Regions from separate parts of the Homo sapiens genome. Here region 1 is linked to region 2. Evidence: promoter capture Hi-C in 16 types of primary human blood cells and fetal thymus (Javierre and others, 2016). All regions are on one chromosome and are shown on one strand. Each heading gives the region's core, a stretch centred on a gene start or on the middle of the fragment in contact. The rest is flanking DNA. Distances are from core to core; before and after follow the strand shown.

Evidence for each region. Contacts are between HindIII fragments. The CHiCAGO score rates a contact against its expected background, and 5 or more counts as called.
Region 1: a fragment that was not itself captured here is called in contact with the fragment with the promoter of CSE1L in region 2 in 1 of 17 cell types (monocytes); the score reaches 5.3 in monocytes.

Annotation. Positions count from the first base shown.
Region 1 is chr20:48,683,518-48,690,425 of GRCh38, reverse strand. It overlaps PREX1 (phosphatidylinositol-3,4,5-trisphosphate dependent Rac exchange factor 1), which reads left to right. Exons shown (of 40, transcript NM_020820.4): 10 at 1,622-1,769. Among named protein-coding and RNA genes, the nearest start is that of PREX1, 140 kb to the left of the region's middle. RefSeq lists an enhancer at 6,648-6,908. The HindIII fragment of the contact is 3,081 bases long and covers 2,764-5,844 here.
Region 2 is chr20:49,044,313-49,051,101 of GRCh38, reverse strand. It overlaps CSE1L (chromosome segregation 1 like), which reads right to left and starts at 4,790. Exons shown (of 25, transcript NM_001316.4): 1 at 4,679-4,790. It overlaps CSE1L-DT (CSE1L divergent transcript), which reads left to right and starts at 5,046. Exons shown (of 2, transcript NR_110625.1): 1 at 5,046-5,242. RefSeq lists enhancers at 3,792-4,432, 4,398-4,467, 5,018-5,167. The HindIII fragment of the contact is 3,278 bases long and covers 2,122-5,399 here.

The sequences.
Region 1 (6,908 bases), core at 3,055-5,554, 360 kb after region 2:
GCTGGGAAAAGGAGGCTTTGGTGTGTTTTGGGGCAAGTTACTCCAGCTTTCCAGACCTCAGTGATCTCATCTGATAAATGGGGATCCAAGTTCCTGCTGTAGAGGGTTGCAATGCTACAGGAGGTCTTGGATTTGAGCACATTTCAAAATCTGACATATAACCCTAAAAACCCTCCCCACCTCCCAGTTTTACTGAGGAGGAAACTGGGCCTCAGTTTTCTCCAAATGTGTATCCTGCTTACTTGAAATTGCCACTTGGAGGTGTCGTAGATGCTCACACTTGCTGTGTCTAAATCATAGCTCTTCATTTCCCCCGGCCTTCTGCCCCAAACCTGCTCTTCCCCTCGACTGCTACATACCAGTCAGTGGCTCCTCCCTTCGCCCCACAGCTCAGAGTCAAACTCTTCGTATCACCCCTGGTCTCCCCTGCAACACCTGCTCCCCAAATTCAATAGATCAACAAGTCCCTGTAACTCTGCCTTTCACATATATGTCACACCCATCCGCTTCTCCTCTCTTCTCCCTACTTCCACCCAAGACAAGCCACCATCCTCTCTCAGGAATATGGGCCCAGCGGGGCCAAATCCATGGATTATTTGTCTAGAGGAACTAGACATCTGGATTTTTAGGTGGCATTTTCTGATCCTAAACGTTGCACCAACATTTATTAAAATGATATTAGGCCCGATAAACCACTGAACTGGGGGCCTGGTTAGGCAGTGTTGTGACTTCTGAAATTGATCGGGGCTGAGTATGTGGTCAGGACTGGGATGGGGTTCAGGGATGTGGCCTAGGTGAGGCCGATCAGTATCTTTGTGGTCTTTGTTGGGCACATGGGATCACGGGTGGGGATGTGGCCCAAGTGGGTCTTAGTTGTTAGAATTGGGTGTTGTCCACATCCTGACCTCAGGGCTGGGGTGGTCACGAGCACGAATATGGAACCAACTTCCTGGGTCTAAATTCTGGTTTCACCACTTCCAATTGGGCAACCTTGGGCAGAGAACCGAACTTCTCTGGACCTCAGTTTCTTTATCTGTAAAACGGGGATAATTATGGCACCTTATTATTGCGGGTTTCTCATGTGGCGTACTGGCATGTAGTAGGTGCTATAAAAGCATTTGCTGTTGTCAAAATTAGATGGGGGTCAAAACAGAAAAATGTGGGCAGAGATTAGGGTCAGGTCCTATGAGTGTTGGCTGGAAGAACGACCAGACTTTTATCACTGGGCTGGAATGGAGATACTGACAAGTTTTCTGATAACCTGTGAATCTAGAAACCCACCCTCAGGTTGGGGAGGCAGCATAGGAAAGTGATGAAGAACATAGCACTAGAGCTTGATTCCTGGGTTGAAGGCATGACCCCCTGTCATCCCAGGACTTAACCTCTCTGGGTCTCAACTTTGCCATCTGTAAAATGGTTGTTTTGAGGTGTCATTGGCAGGTGCCTAGGGCAGCGACAGTCAGTGCCCTCTAGCTGCTGCTGGCGTGGTGGTGGTGGAGGGCAGGTGGTGGGGCAGGTGGCAGGCCAGCTTTCAGGAGCTGTGGGCCTGCCCCTTGTCTCCCCCTACCCCCCCTGCCCTGGGCCTGGTGCTCTCTCCAGTGCTGACCGTGCCCCTGTGTAGGCCTGAAGCTGGGCATGGAGCGTGATGCCTACGTCATGATTGCGGAGAAGGGGGAGAAGCTGTACCACATGATGATGAACAAGAAGGTGAACCTCATCAAGGACCGCCGGAGAAAGCTGAGCACTGTCCCCAAGTGCTTTCTTGGCAAGTGAGTAGCCTCACTCTGAACTCCCTGGGTCCCTGGGCTCTCAGCTGGAGGTGGGGCAGATCATCCCCATCCACCCATGCAGCCTGGCCCTGCCCAGGAGCCATCCTGGGCAGAGTGACAAAAGGACCTGAATCCTTATGGAGCAGCCCTCAGAGATCAAGAAGGCTAGTGGGGTCCCTAAATCAGGTCTTTCAACCTACTACCAGACATAATTTTCCATTGTGACCTGGTACACCCATTCATGTAATATATGATTGAAGCTGAGGTTTCACAGAGCTTACTGTGCTTGATCCCACTCTGAAAATATCTGTTTCTGTTCTCTTCTGTTCTTTCTATTCTATTCAAGTTGCTTCTTCATTCATTTCAAAATTAATGCTGGCAAGACCCATGACATTGTTTCACAAAGCACTAACGGTTTGAAAAATGCTGCTGTAGCACTTGGGAAAAGAGAAGCCACTCTAGGCATTTCAAGCAGAGAGGTATTGAACACAGGTAATTGATTACAAAGGTGTTTTAAGGGCTGGAAGAATAAAGGTAGGCCCCCCACCCCCACCCCATTTTTTTTTTGGCTGGGGCTGCCATAACAAAGTGCACAAAACTGGTGTGGCTTAAACAACAGAAATGTATTGCTTCACAGTTCTGGAGGCTGGCAGTCCTAGGTCAGGGTGTTGGCAGGGAGAGTATCTGGTGAGGCGTCTCTTCCTGAGTTACATGTGAGGGGCGAGGGAAGCTTCTATAAACTTCTCAGTGCCCAGAGCCTCCACTTTCTCTGTTTGGGAAATACAGCCCCATTTTATAACTGGAGTTCAAAGGGGTCAGAACACAGGTGTGACAGGCTGGCTCTTACACGCAGGTCACCTGAGGGAGAGGGCTGGGGCACGGGAGAGGTAGAAGAAATCCAGTCCTTGTAAAATGGTCAGGCTGTTTTAAGGCCCTACAATGTGCTAGACACTCCGGAGAGGACAGTGCCAAGGGCTTGCAACCTCATGAAGCTTGTGGTGCAGCTGGGGAGAGAGGTTTGCCGGCAATGCGGGAACTTTATTTAGAATGTAAGGACTTAAACTCCCCCCAACTTCCCTAAAGCCTTTGCAGAGGCCTAGGGTAAAAGCTGCCACTTTATCACAGTGCTGTGGACCAGGTGAGAGGTTGTGTGGGCCAGGCTTGAGCCAGGATGGTCATTGTGGAGACAGGGAGCAGTGGCTGTGTTCTGGATAACTTGAAAGGCAACAGCATTTGCTGATGGGGTGGAAAAGTAAAGGGAGTTCAGGACTTTAAGGCGCTGGAAAGCTGCAGTTGCTCCTTTGAGAAGGAGAAGAAGATGGCGGGAGGAGCAGGCTGCAGGGGGCCGTGGGAAGCCCACGAGTGCAGTTGTGGACGGGTTATGTCAGGCTGGTAGACACCCACATGGAGATGTGGGCTTGTTGGTTGGTTGCAAAATCTTGACTTGGGGAGAAAGGTCTGCATTGGGGACCTACACATGGGAGATGGTGTTAAATGGTCTTTAAAGCCATGAGACGGCCTGAACTGTGCAGGGGAACCTGAAGGGATAGAAGAGGCAGGCCTGGGCCCTGGGGCCCGATGATGGCATTGGAAGGAGGAGGGGGCAGAGACCTCTGAGTGGAGCTGCTGGCGAGAAGGTGGCACTCCTCCGGAAGCCAAGGGGAGGAAGAGGCGGGGAGGCAGGAGCAGGTCCCTGGGAAGGAGCAGGAGCCCGGTGGAGGCTGAAATGCTGATAGACATTCAGGGTGCAGTATGGATGTTGGGCAGGCCACGGAGGCTTAGTGTGGACTTGGGGACAGCTGGCACTCATGGCCTGAGGCTTGTGGTGGAGGGGCAGCAAGTAGAAGGGTTCAAACCTGCAGGGCGCCATGGACTCTATTGCCCTGTTGCCCTCAAGGGCCTTGGTGCCCTATTTTCCTCAAAGATCAGGAACTCCAGCTCTGAGCTTCCATGGAGAGGAGAGTTTGGGCCTTGGAGTCCTGCTGGCTGGGGCAGGCGGGGCGGGGCAGCCTGGCTGGCCTTTTCAGCCAACTCCTAATCCCACAGGAAAGGAGGTTTTTCTCTCAGGAGGGGCCTGCTTCCGGGCCCCCTGGGGCCAGAGAACCTTCCCATCTCCTGCCAAACTGCTCAGTCCGGACCGATGAGGCAGCCTGTCTGTGATCAGAACTTCGAGGAGTTCTGCCTCCTCAGGAAGGATTAGAGAGATTTCTTTTACTGCCCATTTGAAATGGGGCCAAGATAGCAGCTTGTTTTGTAACTGCAGGTCCGAAAGGGCCAGCCTTTCTGCAGGAGATTATTCTGATAAACTCTTCTCCCTGCACGGCTTTGCTCTGCACACAGCCGTAGGGTGTGTGATCCTGCTACCCCCGCCAGGGTCCCGCTACTGAATCTTCTTGTCCAAGATGCGTCCCTGGTCCTCCAGGGTAGAAGGACTTGGTAGCCTCCGAGATATTGATCAAGCCCTTTGCTGCATGTGCTGGCATTCAGCCATGTCTTTTAATCCCCACACAACACCGTGAAACAGTCACTGCCACTACCCCCATTTTAAAAGTGAGGAAACCGAGGCACAGAGAGGGGAAGGGTTCTGTACAAGATCACAAAGCGACACTGGTGCTGTCTCCCACTGTACTTTGCCTGTCTATTCATTTTTATTTCTACTCAGCACATTTTATTTTTCCCTAGCAGTTCCTCTCTCTACATCTGTCTCCACTGTTAGGGAACTGCATGAATATAAAAAGTGTCTGATTTATCTTTTGGTTTTTAGAGACAGGGTCTCGCTCTGTTGCCCAGGCTGGAGTACAGTGGTGTGATCATAACTCACTGTAGCCTCAAACTCCTGGGCTCAAGCGATCTTCCTGCCTCCTGAGTAGCTGAGACTACAGGTGTGTGCCACTGTGCTAGGCTTCTATAGCTAATTTTTATTTTTTTTTGTACAGATGGGGGTCTTGCAAATGCTCTCGCCTTGGCTTCCCAAGGTGCTGGGATTACAGGCGTGAGCCACTGCACCTGGCCTGATTTGTCTTTATCACCCCCAAGGGTTGGCTTTGAGTTAGACTTGGACTCAAGTCTTGGTTCCCTCACTTTCTAGCTGTGTGACATTGGGGAAGTTTCTTAACCTCTCTGAACCTCAGTGAACGATCAGTTAAAGGGAGATAATAAAATGTGCCTCTGAGGACTGTCGGAGGATACAGTGAGAGAACACGTGACGTGTGCAGCACAGTGCTGGTGAGACTCGTGGGAATCGTACTGGCTGTGCATGATGAGTGTATGAAGGAGGGGCCTCTTTCTGCCCTACTCAGAGAAAAATCTCTTAGATGCCACATTTAAAAAGCAAAGAATAAAATCTGTGTGTATTAATGTGGAGGGTGTCCTGGGAGGAGCATGGCCTGTGCCCTCTGGCATCGTCAGATTAGTAGGGGAGACAAAACAGATTCACTCATTCATTCACCCACTCAGTGTTACCGAGTCCCTGCTATGTGCCAGTCGGGAATAGGACAGATGAAGTCCCTGCCCTCATAGAGGTAAGCATCCAGTGGGGGAAATCAGACAACAGAAGAGGAGACAGATAGAAAGAAGGGAATTTCAGCAACTTGATGAATGCGCTAAGGAAATACTTAGCGTGAAGTCAGGACAAGAGGAAATGGGGCTGGTTCAGAAGAGTGGGCAGTCAGGACCTCTCAGGGGAAGTGACATTTAACCACGATCTGAAAGACAAGCAAGAGCCAGCCATGAGAGGGTGTGGGGAACAGCATTCCTGGCTTAGGAAGCAGTAGGCGCGAAAGCCCTGAGGCTGCAGTGAGCTTTGAGTGATGGTGGAACAGGAGGAGGCCATTGTGGCTGGAGCCTGAGTGGTCAGAGGGGCAGGAGATGTGGCCTCAGCAGTTAAAGTGGGTCACCTCAGGCAGGGCCTTGGCAGGCAGCTCACATTTCCGTCTTGGTGCTGTGGGAAGCCACTGGAGGAGTCTCGGTAGTGGAGTGAGATGAGGATCCAGATCGAGGGCATTGGTGGAGCTGTCGGAGCTCAGGGTTACCAGGTATGACGCGGCGTGTCTGGCAGGGGCCGTCAGGAAAAGCTTCCTGGACGAAGGCCTTGGGTTTCACCCTTGGCAGAGATTAGATGCTGTTCAGTTATGGACGTCTGCCAGAGGGAAAGCTCCAAGGTGGAAGGGGCCTTGGTGTCTTGGCCACCTGTACGCACAGGTGCAGGGTGTTAGTGTGCACGAGAGGGTCGGTAAGGATTTGTCCAACATTGTCATCTCCAGGAGGCATCCCTGAGCCGTGGAGTCACAGGGATGGGTATTCCACTGGGTACCCCCCAGTCCCTACCCTCTTGGAGCCCACGGCCCATGGAGGAATCAGGCAAGAACAAGGGATTCTTGTGTTGGGTCATAAGTGGTACCTTGGGCCTGAGCTCAGGCGGCTTTCTTAGGAAGACTGCAGAATGTATTCCTTGTGCCTCACCCTGGCCGTGGCCCATTGTAGGCTAAATAGATGTTTAGTGGGTGAATGATTCTAGGAGGCGGGAAGGAAGGAGGGATGAAAGCTGACACATCCTAACTCTCAGCTCACCATGCCATCCCTGACTCTCAGACTGCCCATCAAGCTAGATTGCCTTCTCCTTGTATCTCCAGCTCTCCTCACACTGTCCTGAGCTGTGTCTTTCTGGGAGCTTGGACCTAGCTGCCCTTTGCATGCCAGCGCCCCTCCCCACTGGCAGATCGCTGGTTTCCTGACCTTACCTCTCAGGGCTTCTGTGTGCGCTGATCCCCTTGCCCAGAACACTCTCCCCTGTACCCCAGAGGTGGCTAGCAGTGCCCCACTGACCTGATAGAGTTAGCAGACATGTTTTCCTCGGCCCACGTAGTGCTTTCAGAAAATGTTGGACTCGATATGAACATTTAATGATGGGGAGATTTCACAGGAAATGCTGGATTTCCTCACTCTCCCGAGAAGCTGTTAGATGCGTTCGTCTTCTAACATAATGGGCCATGATGGGCTACACTGAAGAGTGGCTGCCAGCTTTAGACACGGCAGGCCCCGGCTGGTTCTGCACAGTCTCCTCCTGGCCTGTTTTGCCTATTTACAAGTTTGAGACCCCTGCACTAGAGATGAATTTTATTGGGTTTTTGCATACTGCAT
Region 2 (6,789 bases), core at 3,541-6,040:
CTCTCTTCACTAGATTGTAAACTCCACTGATAGTAGGGACTTTGTGCTTTGTTCACTGCTCTCTCCCTAGAGCCTTACAATAGTGATGAGCACCCGTTATATATTTGTTGTACTATTTTAAAAAGCTAGATACCTTTGATGTTTCCATCAAAAATATTATTCTTCATCTTTATTTTGGTTGGTTGACTGTGTCAAACAGAAAGAGGTGGACACAACCTTCTAGATTCTAAAACCACAACAGGCTGAGCAAGGTGGCTCACTTCTGTAATCCCAGCACTTTGGGAGGTGGAGATGGGACGATCACTTGACCCCAAGGACCGTTCAAGACCAGACTTGGCAACAATAGTGAGATCCTGTCTCTACAAAAAATTTTAAAAATTAGCTGGGCTCAGGCCGGGCGCGGTGGCTTACGTCTGTAATCCCAGCACTTTGGGAGGCCGAAGCAGGCGGATCATCTGAGGTCAGGAGTTCGAGACCAGCCTGACCAATGTGATGAAACCCCGTCTCTACTAAAAATACAAAAAAAAAAAAATTAGCCGGGCGTGGTGGCATGCGCCTGTAATCCCAGCTACTCAGGAGGCTGAGACAGGAGAATTGCTTGAACCCGGGAGGCAGAGGTTTCAATGAGCCAAGACTGCACCATTGCACTCTAGCTCTAGCCTGGGCAACAAAAGTGAAACTCCCATCTCAAAAAAAAAAAAAAAAAAAAAAAAAAATTAGCTGGGCTTGGTGATACCCTCCTGTGGTCCTAGCTACTAGGGAAGTTGAGGCAGGAGGATTGCTTGAGCCCGGGAGGTCTAGGCTGCAATAAGCTGAGGTCTTGCCACTGCAGTCCAGTATGGGTGACTGAGTGAAACCCTGTCTCCAAAAATAAAATAAAATAAAATAAAATAAAATAAAAATAAATAAATAAAACCACATAATAGAATGAAACCTAAAATGATTAAGTTGAGATGCTAGGGTAGGACTATTTTTAAGTTTAAAAAAAAGTGAGGGGTTATATAAATATGCATGTTATAATCCCTCAAAGTTAAAATACTACATAGATCCCAGAATCTTAATACTCTTTTTTGAGACAGGGTCTGGGTCTGTTACCTAGGCTGGAGAAATGCAGTGGTGTAATTCTGGCCCACTGAAACCTCTGCCTCCTGGGCTCAAGCCATCCTCCTACTTCAACCTCCCAAGTAGCTGGGACTACAGGCACACACCACCACACCTGGCTAATTTTTGTGTTGTTTCTGTAGACATGGTTCCAGTGTTGCCCAGGCTGGTCTGGAACTCCTGAGCTCAAGTGATCCGCCCACCTTGGCCTTCCAAAGTTTATTCTTTGGGAATATTCTTTAAGGAACTATTTGTCAACAAATCCTTTTTATATCGCCTTGCAGATATAGTCTATAAAACCGAATTCTAAGCTTATCCTTAATTTGAGAAAATAAGAGAAATCAGGGACTTTTAGAGAACATTTTACAGGTATTCATAATTATCAACAAGATCAAGCTCTAATTATCTTATGCAACCACAAGTAAAGGTACTTTGACACTCTGAAATATTAGCAATATATAAATGCAAAAAGTGTTACTGATCTAAAAATGACTCAAACTAGAAACAAAACATTCATTTTGGCCAAGTAGGGTGGCTCATGCCTGTAATCCCAGCTCTTTGGGGGGCCAAGGTAAGCAGATTGGTTGAGTCCAGGAGTTTGAGACCAACCTGGGCAACATGGTGCCATCTCTACAAAAAAAAAATAAAAATTAGTTGAGTGTGGTGGTGCACGCCTGTAGTCCTAGCTACTCGGGAGGCTGAGGTAGGAGGATAGACTGAGCCCAGGTCAGCCCAGGCAACACAGTGAGATGGTGTCTCCAAAAAAAAAAGGGAGGGAGAAGATAAGAATTCATTTTTATCACCTTTAAATGAGGGGGTGATACTTTTCTTTCTCCACGTAACTATCTTTGGAAATCTCTACCAATACACAATTAAGAAACTTAAAAAAGCATCACAATAAATCAGTTATGGCAGACATCTAAATTTCCAAGTTCTTCTTGTTGAATGAATGGCCAGACCTAAGTCTAGCATCTTCCCACAGGCCCTCAATTACAGGTGGAGATTTCTGGAATAAAAGCTTTGTTTTCCAAAGCCATCTCACAGACATCTGTGACATAAGCTGATCCAAGATGTCTGCCTTTTTCTTAGATATGTCCTCAACACATTAGAGAACCATTCCCGAGGCCTTACATTTGGGAAGAGGGAAAGAGATCCAATGAATGAAAACTATCTGGCACCCACACATGAAGAACATATCCCAACACCTCAACCTACCCTCTGCTTTCTAACCATAGGAATATACCACTTAGAATCAAATCCAAACTCCTTACATTGCCTACAAAGCCTTCTATGATCCGGGTCCTGGATATTTCTCCCTTCTTCATGTAACACTCTAGGAACCTAAGATATTCCTTAAATATTTCAATATTCCAAGCCGGTTCCTGTCCTTGAGCCTTGAGCCTTCTATTCCCTCTACCTGGAATGTTCTGCCCCTCACCTTTTAATGGCTGGTCTCTACCCAAATGTCACCTCCTCAGAAAAGCCTTCTTCACCTGTCACATAATTCTGTCACTATCTGAAATTATCTAATGTTTTTTCTTTCGCCCACGAGAATACATGGTCCTCAAGGGAAGGGACCTTGTCCATTTTTGTTTTTTCACTATATTCCCAGAGATTAAGTGGATGCTCAATAAAGTTATTAAATGAATAAAGAAACAAATTAATTCCAAAACTAGAGCACTGCTCTTGCATCCATCCAATCCTGTCCCAGACCCCAACCAGCAGAAGTAATCAGAAGGGGAGAGAGACTTCCCTTGCACTGATGGTAAGAAGTGAAAGATAAAGGGTTGTAGGAGCGGAGAGACGAGGTCCATTAGGATCCTCTGAAAGCATGTCAAAAAAAAAAAAAAAAAAGAGAGAGACACACACAGAGAAAGGCCAAAGATATGACTATGTGGGCCCAAGGTGAGAAAAAGAGCAATTGGTGGAATCCAAGACTAAAGGGTCCCCTTCTGTGCCTCCAAGGAAGAATAATACTTGTGCATCTACCATGTGGCAAGCACAGGTGGGATGGCACCCACCAGGGAGAGAGAAGTAAGCAAGACAGACAAGGTCCTTGCTCTCAAACAGCTTACATTCTAGCAGTTGAGAAAGATAACAAGTAAGCAATAAGTAAGTGTTAGTAAATGCTATGAAGTAACTAAAACCAGGTGATGTTGATGGAGAGCCATGGGAGAAAGGTCCTAGACAGGTTGATTAGACAGCCTGATCAACATGGTGAAACCCCGTCTCTAATAAAAATACAAAAATTAGCCGGGTGTGGTGGCGTGTAGTCTCAGACCTGTAGTCTCAGCTATTCGGGAGGCTGAGGCAGGAGAATCGCTTGAATCCGGGAGGCGGAGGTTGCAGTGAGTCGAGATCGCGCCACTGCACTCCAGCCTGGGAGGCAGAGCGAGACTCTCTCTCTCAAAAAAAAAAAAAAAAAAAAAAAAAAAAGAAAAGAGAAAAGAAAAAGAAAAAGAAAACAAAAGAAGAGGTTGGTTAGGGGAGGCCTAAGGTGAGGGAAACTTGGGAGAGGCGGCCTGCCTTGCAAAAATGTTGGTACTTCCCCAGCAAACAAAAGGCATGTGCAAATAATTTTAAATCGGAATAACCCTGGAATATGGAAGAAACAGAAAGCCACACTGGCTAAGGAGAAAGATGGGTGGGAGAGATGAATAAACAACCGTCAGCTCCCAGGGAACCTTTGTAAACCACGGTAAATAACTCAGCGCATCCTCAAAGCCACTTTCCGAGGTAGATTCTGTTATTAACCCCATTTTGCAGCTAAGGAAATGGAGGCTCAGTGAGATGAGGTGACCAGCCTCAAGTTACACCCCTAACGAGAGGCTACGTCTGGAATGAACCCAGGCGATCTAATTCCAAAGTCTATGCTCCGAACCACCACAGCACAGCGTTTCTCCCAAAACGAGGGAACCCTCCCCCAACCCGCGTTACAGGGGATTTCTATGTCCCGGGTGTACCGACTAGAATTCTCACAAACAATTCAGCAAAGTGAGATCACGATGCCCGTTTTACAGTCAGGGATACAAGTACAGAGGTTAGAGAAGGGTGAGTTCGGGGGCTTCACTAGAGTTAGGGCAAGGGACGACGCGAGGCAGCCGCAGCTCCACGCGCCCGCAGTCCCCGCCCGGGCAGGCCTCGCCGCCGCACACTCAGCTCGCGCGGCTAGCAGCCACCGTCGCAGAGAATGGACATGCGAGCGCGACCAATAAGGAGCGGCCTTCCCGAGCGGAGAGGCGGCGGCGCAGCCAATCAGCGCCGTGATGGAGAGGAAAGGGCGGGCAATCCGCAGGCTCGCGTTAGGCCGCGCCTCAGTTGCCCTCAGCCCTCACAGGCCCTGGGGTCGCCGCACCTGGGCCAGAGACCTAGGATGCCGCGAGGCGCGGCAAGCGCTCCCTAGGGAAGCCGAAGACCTTGCCTGAGCGCACCACCCGAACCCCGGGCCCACATTCCGCTCTCGCCCAGAGGCGCGGTTCTCACTCCCTAGCGCTCGTTAGTACCGGGAGCGCCTCATCCCTTCCTCAGCTGGGCCCCAAGAGCCACTCTGGTAGGCCGTGCACGCCCCGCGCCTCACCTCGTGGGGATACAGAAACGGAGGAGGGAACCCCAGCCGCGGACCGTAGCTGGCACTACCCGCTCCTGCCGCCGCTCCGCCTCACATTCAAACCCCGGCAAAATGGCGCGACAGCGAGCCTGAGGCCAGAGCGCATGAGCGAGCGGCCCGCTGCAGGGGGCGGGGCCAGGAATGCTCTGGCCCCACCCAAGTTCGAAGGGCCAATCGGGGCCCCGCTCTGTTTCTGCGCTGATCTCACAAGTGACAATGCTCTTTGGCTCTGACCATGCCAGCAGGCTTCACGGTTCTCGTTTTCCAAAGAGGAACACAGATTCAGCGAGCGGCTGCTGGCTTCTGACCCATTTTGATGTCAGGGCTTGGCACGTAGGAGGTGTTCAATGTTGATCGATCCAAGGTCGTGCACATAGGGTCTAAGACGGAAGAGAACTTCCTGCCCCTCTTGGAGCTTCTATTTTAGAGGGAGACACGGCCAGACAGGTCTCGAACTCCTGGCCTCAAGTGATCCGCACACCTTGGCCTCCCAAAATGCTGGGATTCCAGGCGTGAGCCACCGCGCCTGGCCTGGTATGTAAGTTTTGGTACTCTTATTACAGCCCACAAACCATATGGGATCTGGCCCCTGCCAGCCTGCCTGCCCTCATCACCTTCCGCTTCCCTCCTCTCCTCACCCTCACTCAGCTCCGCCACCCCACCTTCTTCCTGTTCCTCTAAGCTCCAAGCTTATTTCCACTTTAGAGCATTTATACTTGCTGTTCCCTGTGCTGGGATGTTCTAGATTCCTGAATGATTGGCTCCTTCTTTACATTTAGGTTCCAGCTCAAATGTCACCTCCACAAAAGAGGCCTATCTGAAATTGCCCACTCACCACCACCCAGCACACAAATTAGGGTTGCCAGGTTTAGCAAATAAAATGCAGGCTGCCCAGGTCAATGTAAATTTTAGAAAAAAATTTATAATTTTCTAGTATAAATACTGTGTAGGACATATTTATACTTAAAAATCATGCATTGCTTATCTGAAATTCACATTGAACTGGGTGCCCAGTGTTTGATCTGGTAAGCCTAGTTCCATGATATCATTATGGTATTTATCACTCTCCAACTAATTGTCTCTTCTTTATTTTGTTCCTCCTTCCGCTTCTCCCCTCCTAAACCCCTGCCCTCCTCCCCATCCATAACCTAAGGGATTCTATACAGCAAGGGCTTTTCTTTTTTTTTTTTTTTTTTAAAGACAGAGTCTTGCTCTGTCGCCCAGGCTGGAGGGCTGGAGTGCAGTGGTGCTGTCACAGCTCACTGCAACCTCTGCCTCCCAGGTTCAAGCAATTTTCCTGACTCAGCCCCCCAAGTTACTGGGACTACAGGTGCCCGCCACCATGCCCCGCTGATTTTTGTATTTTTAGTAGACACGGGGTTTCACCATATTGGCCAGGCTGATCTTGAACTCCTGACCTTGTGATCCGCCAGCCTTGGCCTCCCAAAGTGCTGGGATTACAGGCATGAGCCACCACGCCTGGCCAGGGCTTTTTTTTTTTTTTTTTTTTTCTTTTAAGAGGCAGGGTCTTGCTCTGTCACCCAGGCTGCAGTGCAATGGCACAATCATAGCTCATTGCAACCTCGACCTCCTAGGCTAAAGCAATCCTCCCACCTCAGCCTCCTGAGTAGCTAGGACTACAGGCACCTGCCACCACACCTGGCTAATTTTGAATTTTTTTGTAGAGATGAGCTCTCACTATGTTGCCCAGGCAAACTCCTGGCCTCAAGTGATCCTCCCACCTCCGCCTCCTAAAGCACTGGGATAGGGCTGGGCATGGTGGCTCACGCCGGTAATCCCAGTGATTTGGGAGACCGAGGCAGGCAGATCACCTGAGATTGGGAGTTTGAGACCTGACCAACATGGAGAAACCCCGTCTCTACTAAAAATACAAAATTAGCCGGGTGTGGTGGCGCACGTCTGCAATCCCAGCTACTTGGGAGGCTGAGGCAGGAGAGTCGTTTGAACCCGGGAGGCAGAGGTTGCGGTGAGCTGAGATCTTGCCATTGCACTCCAGCCTGGGCAACAAGAGCGAAACTCCATCTCAAAAAAAAAAAAAGCCCCGGGATTACAGGTGTGAG